2 separate regions of the Homo sapiens genome follow, and region 2 is linked to region 1. The links are contacts of gene promoters, found by promoter capture Hi-C in human tissues and cell types (Jung and others, 2019). All regions are on one chromosome and are shown on one strand. Each heading gives the region's core, a stretch centred on a gene start or on the middle of the fragment in contact. The rest is flanking DNA. Distances are from core to core; before and after follow the strand shown. Region 1 holds the start of GALNT1 (polypeptide N-acetylgalactosaminyltransferase 1). Region 2 overlaps GALNT1 (polypeptide N-acetylgalactosaminyltransferase 1).

What was found. Contacts are between HindIII fragments. The study calls those that stand out against the background at their distance.
Region 2: a fragment that was not itself captured here is called in contact with the fragment with the promoter of GALNT1 in region 1 in 3 of the 25 tissues and cell types used here (IMR-90 fibroblasts, hippocampus and lymphoblastoid cells).

What each region holds. Positions count from the first base shown.
Region 1 is chr18:35,579,429-35,584,134 of GRCh38, forward strand. GALNT1 (polypeptide N-acetylgalactosaminyltransferase 1) reads left to right here and starts at 2,312. Exons shown (of 12, transcript NM_020474.4): 1 at 2,312-2,434. RefSeq lists a silencer at 1,354-2,053. The HindIII fragment of the contact is 13,517 bases long and covers 1-4,706 here.
Region 2 is chr18:35,659,107-35,663,812 of GRCh38, forward strand. GALNT1 (polypeptide N-acetylgalactosaminyltransferase 1) reads left to right here. Exons shown (of 12, transcript NM_020474.4): 3 at 4,522-4,696. Among named protein-coding and RNA genes, the nearest start is that of MIR3975, 70 kb to the left of the region's middle. The HindIII fragment of the contact is 3,602 bases long and covers 338-3,939 here.

The DNA of each region.
Region 1 (4,706 bases), core at 1,062-3,561:
GATGGTATAGCCTACTACACACCTAGGCTACATGGTACAGCTTATTGCTCCTAGGCTACAGACCTGTACAGCATGGGACTGTACTGAATACCGCAGGCAATTGTTAACACAATGGTATTTGTGTATCTAAACACAGAAAAGGTAACCCATTGCCCAACGACATTATGAAGGCTACCTCACTTGGTGATAGTAACTTTTCAGCTGCATATAATCTTATGGGACCACCATTGTACAGGTGACCCATCATTGACCGGGGCATGGCTGTAAATAGATCCTACAATACAGGCTCTTACACATCTAGCTTCTTCCACTTAGCTTATCGTTTTTGAGGTTCCTCTATGTTGTATCTTCTATGACTACTTCGTTCCTTTTACTGAGTAGTAGTCCACTGTATGGCATATACTGCATTTTATCCACGCAGCAGTTTCTGGACATTTGGACTGTTTCTACTTCTTGGCTATCATGAATAACACTGTTATTAATATTCATGTACAAGTTACTGTATGAATTTATCTTCAGTTCTCTCAGGCATACGCCTAGGAGTGGAATTGTTGGGTGATAGAATACTTCATGTGTAACTTTTTAAAAAACCTGGAAAACTGTTTTCCAAAGTGGCTGCACCATTTTACATTTCCATAGGCAACGTATGAGGGTTCTAATTTCTCCATCTCTTCACCAACACTGCTATTGTCTGTCTGTCTTTTGTACTACAGCCAGTGTAGTGGGTGTCAAGAACTTCCTTGTTGTGCTTCTAATTTGCATTTCCCTATTAACTAATGATGTTGAACACCTTTTTATGTAATTGTTGATCATTTAAATATCTTTGGTAAAACGTCTATTCAATTGTTTTGCCCATTTAAAATTGGACTATTAGTCTTATTACTGAGTTGTAAGAGTTCTTCATACATTCTGGCTACAAGTCCTTTAACAGATATATGATTTGCCAATCTTTTCTCCCAAGATAAGAGTATTTTTTAACGATGACAACTTTATTCCAAAGTGAAGTTTCCTTGTGGAACAGTAACAGGCTAGTCATGATTGACTTTGTTTCAAAATATTATATAAGTACTTTTAAAATAGTAACTTTTAACTTTTATTTTAGAATACTTGGAAGATGTAGACAAGCAAAAACAGGATACTAAAATTCCAGAGATAATCTTCAGGTTTTTTTTTTTTTTTTTCGGACAGCCTTTTGGTTATGTGAGAGGTAATATAAATTTAAAAGTGGGACCACTTAAATATTAAGTAATCTCTTATTGCAGCTCTTGGTTGGCAAGCAATAAGACACAAACCTCTGAATTATTTAAGTAGAAAATTAATTTATTAAAAGAATGGTTGGTTATGCCTCGCGTGAGTGACAGAGCCAGGGTTTTGTCTTCTATCTTCAGGGCAGGGTACAGCTGGGTATTGGAATTGTACCAAGCAGTGTTTCCCAAGGGGGCACAGAGGGAGGGCCCCTCTCCGGGCACTGTGCGGGAGCCACTTCCCCAAACAGTCCCCGTTCTGCAAGGGCCCCGGCGTTGCTGCCCCCGAGACCCGGGTGCCTGCCCCGGCGGTGCGGGTCGCGGGCCTCCGCTCTCGCCGTCCTCCCTCAGTCCCGGGCCTCCTGCATCGCGGTCGCCAGGCGCAGGCTCAGCGCGGCTGACAGCGCTCCAGCTCCCGCGCTCGCGGCCGCCTCAGGCAGCCGACCGGGTTGGGGCGGCCCCGCGCTCGGCCCGGGAGCCGATCCGCTGTGAGGGCTCCTCCATCTCCTCCCACCCCGTGACCTGCTCGACGCGCAACAGCCCGAGTTGTCTTTAACTTGCTGCGGCAGCCTCTTTGTCCCGACCCAGGGTCGGGGGCACCTCTCGGCCTGGCCCGGCCCTGCCCGTAGCCGTGTGAGCGGGGGCCGGGACTGGGCGGTCGGTCCGGGAGGGGCGCCGCGCCCGACCCCGGAGTCCCGAGCCCGAGGGGAGCGTCGCGGCCCCGCGGTGGGCTCGCCGCAGCGGAGGGGGCGCGCATCCGGGTGAGCGCCGGCGCCCCCGCCTCCCCCGCGCAGCCGCACGGGCCGCCGCCGCCGCTGCCGCCGAGCACGCAGCGCAGGGAGGACCGCGCCCGAGCGCCTGCGGGCGCCCTGCGGCGCCCGCCGCGCGACGAGCCCCAAGTGAGCGGGCAGGCGGCGCGCATGCGGGGCGGCCCGGAGTAGCGCCGCCCGAGCCCGCGAGCGGGGCGCCCGGAGTAGCCGCCGACCCGAGCCGGGCGCGGAGGCGGGGGCGGGCGCGGCGGAGCGGGGCCCGGCCGGACCCGCCCGCCCGCCGGGGGAGCCGCCGGCAGTGGCCGAGGAGCGCGCGGCGGACGGCGGCCCGAGAGTAGCGCGCTGGCCGCGGGACCGGCCGCGACCGCCGCGGCCGGCCCGGAGGACGCCTGCCGCCGCCGCCGCCGCGCGCCTAGCGAGGTGAGTGTATCGCCCGCGGCTGGGCAGTCCCGGAGCCGCAGCGCTGCGCGCGGGTCGGAGGTGGAGAAAGAGGCCCCGCCGCGGCCGCGTCCCCGGTCCCTTTGTGGCCGGCGCTGCCTGGGGCCGGGGCGCGGGCACGCTCGGCGCGGGTTCGGGTCTGGGACCCCGGTGCCGTTGGACACGCGGCGTCTCTGGTTGGCAGCTTTGGCGAGCAGCGAGTTTCCGTCCTAGTTTGACATTGAGTTAGAACCGTTTTTCTTTAGAAGACGGAAGTTTGTTTTATTGACAAAAATAAAGCTAAATATGGCTTCTGGGTTCGGCCGTGTGGTACTTGCAACCGCGGTGCCAGCCTGACCCTCGCGGCGCCACGGGGGAGGGGAAGACACGCCGGCAGCGGGGGAGGGGGCTTCCCGGCCCGCTGCCCCCGAGGAGGACCCGGACCTAAATTAGCAAATGTTTGTGGTTGGGAAGTAGCGGGCTTTAGGTAATGTAGTAGCTTTTCCGCTTTTCCTGGAAGAATGAATGAATGAGATGTCATTTACTCATCCATAATCAATACGTTGCCCATTTAAGCATTTACCAGGAATTGGGATGATTTGCATTGTCATTGCTTCTCTTATCTGGTCAGCCTTGCTAGATGAGGTTCCCTTACTCCCCAGATTTGTGACCTTGTCCTCATTCTCAAAGCCACTGAGCTAACCAACCCGTCTACCAAACTCACTTGGCATTTTTTTGGTCAAGTGGGCAATAGGCAAAGTAGTCTTTCTGAACTGTTTCTGGAGGGCAGAGAATGTCACTTTGATCATATCTTATGTTTAATACATTGCTTTATAATCGTGTCAAGAACGCTGAGAGTTAGGAGGTCTTGTCATTTCACAGATGAAATAGTGAAGGCCCTAAGAAGTTGCAACTTTTCAGGTCACAATCTGAGCAGCAGAGTTGGGATTCAAACCTAGACCTTGTTAGTCCAGTCCTCTTTACATCACATCTGTGTCCAGACCTGGACTGTCCAGCGTGGGAGCCACTAACCACATGTGACTATTAAAATTAAATTTTAAAAATTCAGCTCCTCGGTCACAGTAGCCACATTTCAAGTGTTCCATAGCTAAATGTGGTTCTTTGCTACAGTTGAACAGCCCTGGTCTAAATTATACATACATTTGTTGTGTCAGTAAATATTTACTGAATGCGATCTGTCTATGAGGCACAGTTTTAAGTTCTGGGTACATGGTGAATAAGGGAGACACAATGTCCTTGCCCTATTGGAATTGACATTTTACATGATCCTTTGAGGATGTTTCCATGGTACTCCGAGTCCTGCTATTCCAAGTGTGGATGGTGTACCAGCAGCATCCCTGTCACCTCAGACTCAAGTAATGCAGAATGTGAAGCCCCGCTGCACATCAACTGAATCAGTATCTGCTTTACCAGGATTTCAAGTTATTTGTGTGCACTTTGAAACCTGAGAAGCCTTTGTTCAGCGTGCTGGTGATAACTGCGTTTAATGACTGCTCTGCTGGTTTGTTTGGTGCCTCTTAAGCAGCAGACTGCAAAACTCTTGGGAGCACTCACCATTTATGCAAATACTTGTTAAATGCCTGGCTTTCTCAATAGAGTTTAAGCTTTATGAGAGCAGAGATTGTGGCTTCCTTTTCCAGCCATGTATCACTGAAGACTTTACAGTGCCTGGTAAGCAATAAGCACTTGGTATAAATGCTTGTTGGATAAACGAATGAGTGTGCTAGGATACTTAAGCGTGGTTGTTAGCTGGGTGTGGTGGCATGCGTCTGTAGTCCTAGCTATTCCAGAGTGACAGCGCGAGACCCTGTCTCAAAAAACTGAAAACCCAACAACAACAAAACTGATTGTTAATCCCAAGCAGTTACAGGCAAGGTAATTCTCATGACATCAGGTGAGAGAGCATGGGACCAGAGTCAAAATGAAGATAGATCTGTTTGTAACTTTCAGTGGGACGCTCCAGCTACTCTGACTGGAGTTTTGCTCCTGGCTCACTTGCATGCCCTATCCCTCTTTTAACTAATATAATAATAATTTTGAATCTGAATCACACATTAGTGCTTCATATAGTTTTTAAAAAATTTTGTATTTTTTTAGGTAGCTAAATTCCAGACATTATTTGGATTTCACCAGTTTTTCCGTTAATATCTTCTTTCTGTTCCAGAATCCAGTCCAGTGTACTACATTGTATTTTGACATCATGTTTCTTTAATATTTGGTTTGTGATAGTTTCTGTCTTGTCTGGTTTTCCATA
Region 2 (4,706 bases), core at 889-3,388, 80 kb after region 1:
ACTCCAGAGTGACTTTTTCATATTGGAAGTACCTAATTTCTGAACGTTCTGCTTTACAGCTCTGATTTCGGTGAAATTTAGCAAATTTTACTGTCTCTGCTGTGAAAAAAGTTTTCCTAGGTTTGAATAGAATGGATTGATGTCATTGTGATAATGCTGAAGACTTCCTGTAACATTGTTGTTGATATGCTGTACTTAAGAGTTTTCTAAGATTCTTCTATTTACTTGTTACTTGCCTGCTTCAAGGAATAGTGAGTCTTTGGTGACTCCAGAGGGGTTTGTTTTTTCTGAGTCGTTCTCTTAAGTCTATACTTGTATTTTATACCTGAGGCTATCTGAAAATAGCAGAGTTCTGCTGCTGCTAGAGTTAGATTGGGCTCCCTTGAAAGAATACGGGTAGTGGGGGTTATGGCCTAGGAATATTTTTACACTCTTCTGCTTTCCAGAATTAGCCCATTTATCCACTTTATGGATTTGGGTGTTATATAGAGTGTTCAGTATTTTTAAAGATGCAGTTTCAAGTAGTAATTGATTCTTCATGTCAGTACTGCATTTTCAGATCATTAAAATATTAATGATTTAACTTTTCATGTACTTATGCTGGAATTATTTCAACTGTTGAACATTAGGAAGCCTTGGAGAACATGGTTTATGGAAAAAACTTACAATGATAAAAAACTTTAAAATATTACTAGTAAAGGCTATAATAACTTTATAACAAATTTTTAAGTGTTGATTTTTATATATGCAGCGCAGGTAAATTGAACATGAAATTGGAAATTGACAAGGATGTTGAAGTAGCAGAAAGTTACCAGTGAGTTAAGGTATAGATGATATTTTGATGTTTAAAAAATCAGATAGTGTACTGCATTTTATTGCATCTTACATACCTTTGTTTATAGAATATTCTGTATACCACCGTAAAAGTGATAACATTCCAGTTACCATTGTGAGCCACATTCCAATTTCAGAAATGTTAAAATATAGTAGGAAACATTTTGAAATAGTGAATATAGTGCATAAGGACAGTAAAAATGTTAATTGTGTAGTAAGATCAGAAAATAGTTTGGGAGAAATGATTTTAGCCTTTTATTAGTATATTTACCCCAAAAAGAAGTCATATAACTTTAGTCTACTTTCCTGAGAGAAACACACATAAGAAATTTGAAAAATATCCTTAAAGTGTATTCAAAGGCATGCCAGTGGTTTGTGTATGTTAATCTTATTTGGGGGCTTTCAGAGTGAACCTGTAGTTTTCTTGGTAATTACCTTTTCTAAAACATGATACTTATCTACAGTGTCATGTAAATGAAACTTAACTGAAGTATATAATAAAATATGTTTGTTCTCACATAATACTTTGGAATAACACCTTTGTCCCTCCCTTGTCAAAGTGATTTGATTCTTAGAAATGAGCTGCATGTAGAATTTTATGCAAAGATATTTTCTTTAGTTCATGAAATGACATCCAAACTCATTTCAGTTTCTTTCTAATAAAATTTTCACAGAACCTACTTTTAATACACATAGAAGACTGGCAGTAGAGAACATGGAAAGTTTATACTTACCATCTTTTTAGTTGCTTTCTAATGCTATAAATGCATTAATAGTAACATATATTCACTAACCACATGCATTTCATCCAAACTCGTTTGCCAAGAAAATTAGTTTAATAGTCCATTTAATTCTGTAGGATATTGTATTTTCTTATTAATAATTAGAGTATTGTGGTGCATTCTCTAAATCATTCAGTAGACATGTAACTTTTGATTAATGATAATTTTAAATGTGGCTCTGAAATTTCATATGTAACAGTAGGTTAGAGTACATAATGCAGGCACTATGTTAGATTTTCAGATTAATAAATATCAGGTGATGAAATGTGCAAAATAGTGCATCAGCAGGATTGTATATGCTGTACATTTTTGCCTGATTCTTTAAGATCTCAAAACCAACTTTAAGCTTCTGGTTATATAATTTCATGTGTAATAAGCAATTAAGTTTATATTTTGTAGTATTTATAGTAATAATTTCTCCAGTCCTCCTTAATGCCCCCCTCCACCATGGAAATTCTCAAACAGAAACAAAAGTAGAGAGAATAGAAAATCATGGCTGGGAGCGGTGGCTCACACCTGTAATCCCAGCACTTTGGGAGGCCAAGGTGGGCAGATCACCTGAGGTCAGAAGTTCAAGACCAGCCTGGCCAACATGGTGAAACCCCATTTCTACTGAAAATACAAAAATTAGCCAGATATGGTGGCGCGTGTCTGTAATACCAGCTACTGGAGAGGCTGAGACAGGACAATTCGCTTGAATCTGGGAGACAAAGGTTGCAGTGAGCCAAGATTGCACCACTGCACTCTAGTTTGGGTGACAGAGCGAGACTCTGTCTTAAAAAAAAAAATCAAAAAAAAAAAATTAAACTCTCATGTATCCATCATCTGGCTTCAAGAGTTGTCAACTCATGGCTAGTTTTGTGGCATGGATACCTCTTTCTCTTTGTCTCCCTCAGACCTGTTTTGTTTGTTGTTGAAGAAGAAATTGAGGTATTTCTCTTTTCCAGTTTCCTGCAGTCTGGATTTGCATCCCTTTAATGGTGCATGCCATGTCCCTTTGTCCCGTATATTTCCTGTAAATTAGGTCTAGAGGCTTGATCAGGTTGAGGATCTTTTTCCCCCTAGTAAAAACACAGATGGTATATGTATATGTTAATACTCTTCATTTAAAAACTGAGCAGCATGAAAACGTTTCTATTTTGATTTTTCTATAAAGCATTTTATACTAAAATAGAGCATGGGTAACAGAAGGATATTTATAATCAGGGCCACTAGATGTCTCCCACCTACTCTTTATGTTATCTGTGCCATCCACAAAAGATTTTTGTCACCTTCAGAACTCTGCCGGTTCCTTTTGACCACTGATGTACCAATCTCAAAATCTGTTGGTTGTTCTTTACTTTCAGAGACTGGCAAGTAGAAATGACTATACGAGTTTAACAGTATTTGATTTTTAAAGCTTTAAAGGCTGATTTTATATGGAGTATTACACTTCTGTACTTATAGTTTTTACTACACTTGTTGATGATTTTTGTCATTGAGAATTTTTAAAAACTCTACCAACTCTCATATTTAAGGAGCTTACTTACTGGGCAAACATTAGGCAGGACTTGTTTTTAAAAACTATGTTACTTGAGTTTCCTATAATTTTTAAAGTAATTTTCTACTATTTTAATGTTCCACATAAAATCCCAATTTATCCTGAGAACAGGGGAAAACTAATGCACACTTTTTTCATCATCATTTTCTGAAATCTATTTTTAAATTCTGGACGTGGTTGAGGACACAGTGAATAGTTTCATATCCTGCAGCTCTGGTATTGGTAGGTGGCTTTGTACCACTGGCTGAAACAATCACCCTAAAGTCAGCTTTACCAGCTCGTCCTGTTCTTGTACAGATGAAGCCTGACTGAAGAGAGATGGCTTTTCTGCTGCCTTGATGCCACTATTTTTTGTTTAGAAATGTTTTGAGGATGCCTAAAAAACAATCTACAAGAGAATAAAACTTTAGATTTTAAAATAAGTAATGCATAAAATATATTTTCATCCCATTTTTGACCTCACCTCATTCTTTAGCCATCCCTTATAGATGAGAAGTTTAACATAGCACCTTCCAAATTTAATATATCCCAGAACCTGTTTTTCTTGGACATTTATTAACGTCTCAAAAACATAAGGAAGAAAGTTTGGGAAGTGCTGATCAGGCACATTGCTCTTTTTATGTCTGTATCAAGAGATAACATTACTTTTGATGAGAATTCTTGTTCTAATGGGAGGGGTACATAAGACAGGTTTGACAATCATTATAATGAGAGATAGCAATTGGTTAGAGACATAAGAACCCTGAATGAAATAATGTGATAGTCAAGACTAGTAAATAACCACTATAGAGAGATTCAGAAAAGCTACAGGGAAGAGAAGCCATTTTAGTTGGGCATGGGAAGGCAAATAGGGATTTGGTGTTGCAGCGATGGAAGCCGTGAGGGGATGTGAGCAAAGGCATGGAAGCAGGAGAATGTGAGGCACGTTGGAAGGAAGGCAGTGGGTGGCTGTTTGACTGCAAGATGAAGTACTGTGGGATGGGAGGAAAAGGTCTAGCAGGTGATAGTTTTGGAAAATTAGGTTCAATTCCCCATTACAGAGGTTGGACTCTAGGAGGCCATAAGAATAACAATGAAGGCTGCACTTTAAGGAGATCAGTGTGGCAGTAGTTTTTGAGTTGGGAGCCAACACCATGCAGTGACTCAGGTGAGTGGGGCAAGGTGACGAAGTCTTGAGTCAGGACACTGGTGTGGAGGTAGAGGACAAGACAGCCCCTTGAAAGGGTTAACAGCCTAGGAGAGGGTGGGCTCAGAAAGGGTTCTGGTTGTTGAGGGCACAGTTCAAACACAAATGTTATTAAATAGAATCATGAATCAATCAATTGCTATGAAATTAATGTTAGTTAAGTTTCTTCCTATTCTTAGTTCTAGAGCCAGTACAAAAGCCTCATGAAGGTCCTGGAGAAATGGGGAAACCAGTCGTCATTCCTAAAGAGGATCAAGAAAAGATGAAAGAGATGTTTAAAATCAATCAGTTCAATTTAATGGCAAGTGAGATGATTGCACTCAACAGATCTTTACCAGATGTTAGGTTAGAAGGGTAAGTACTT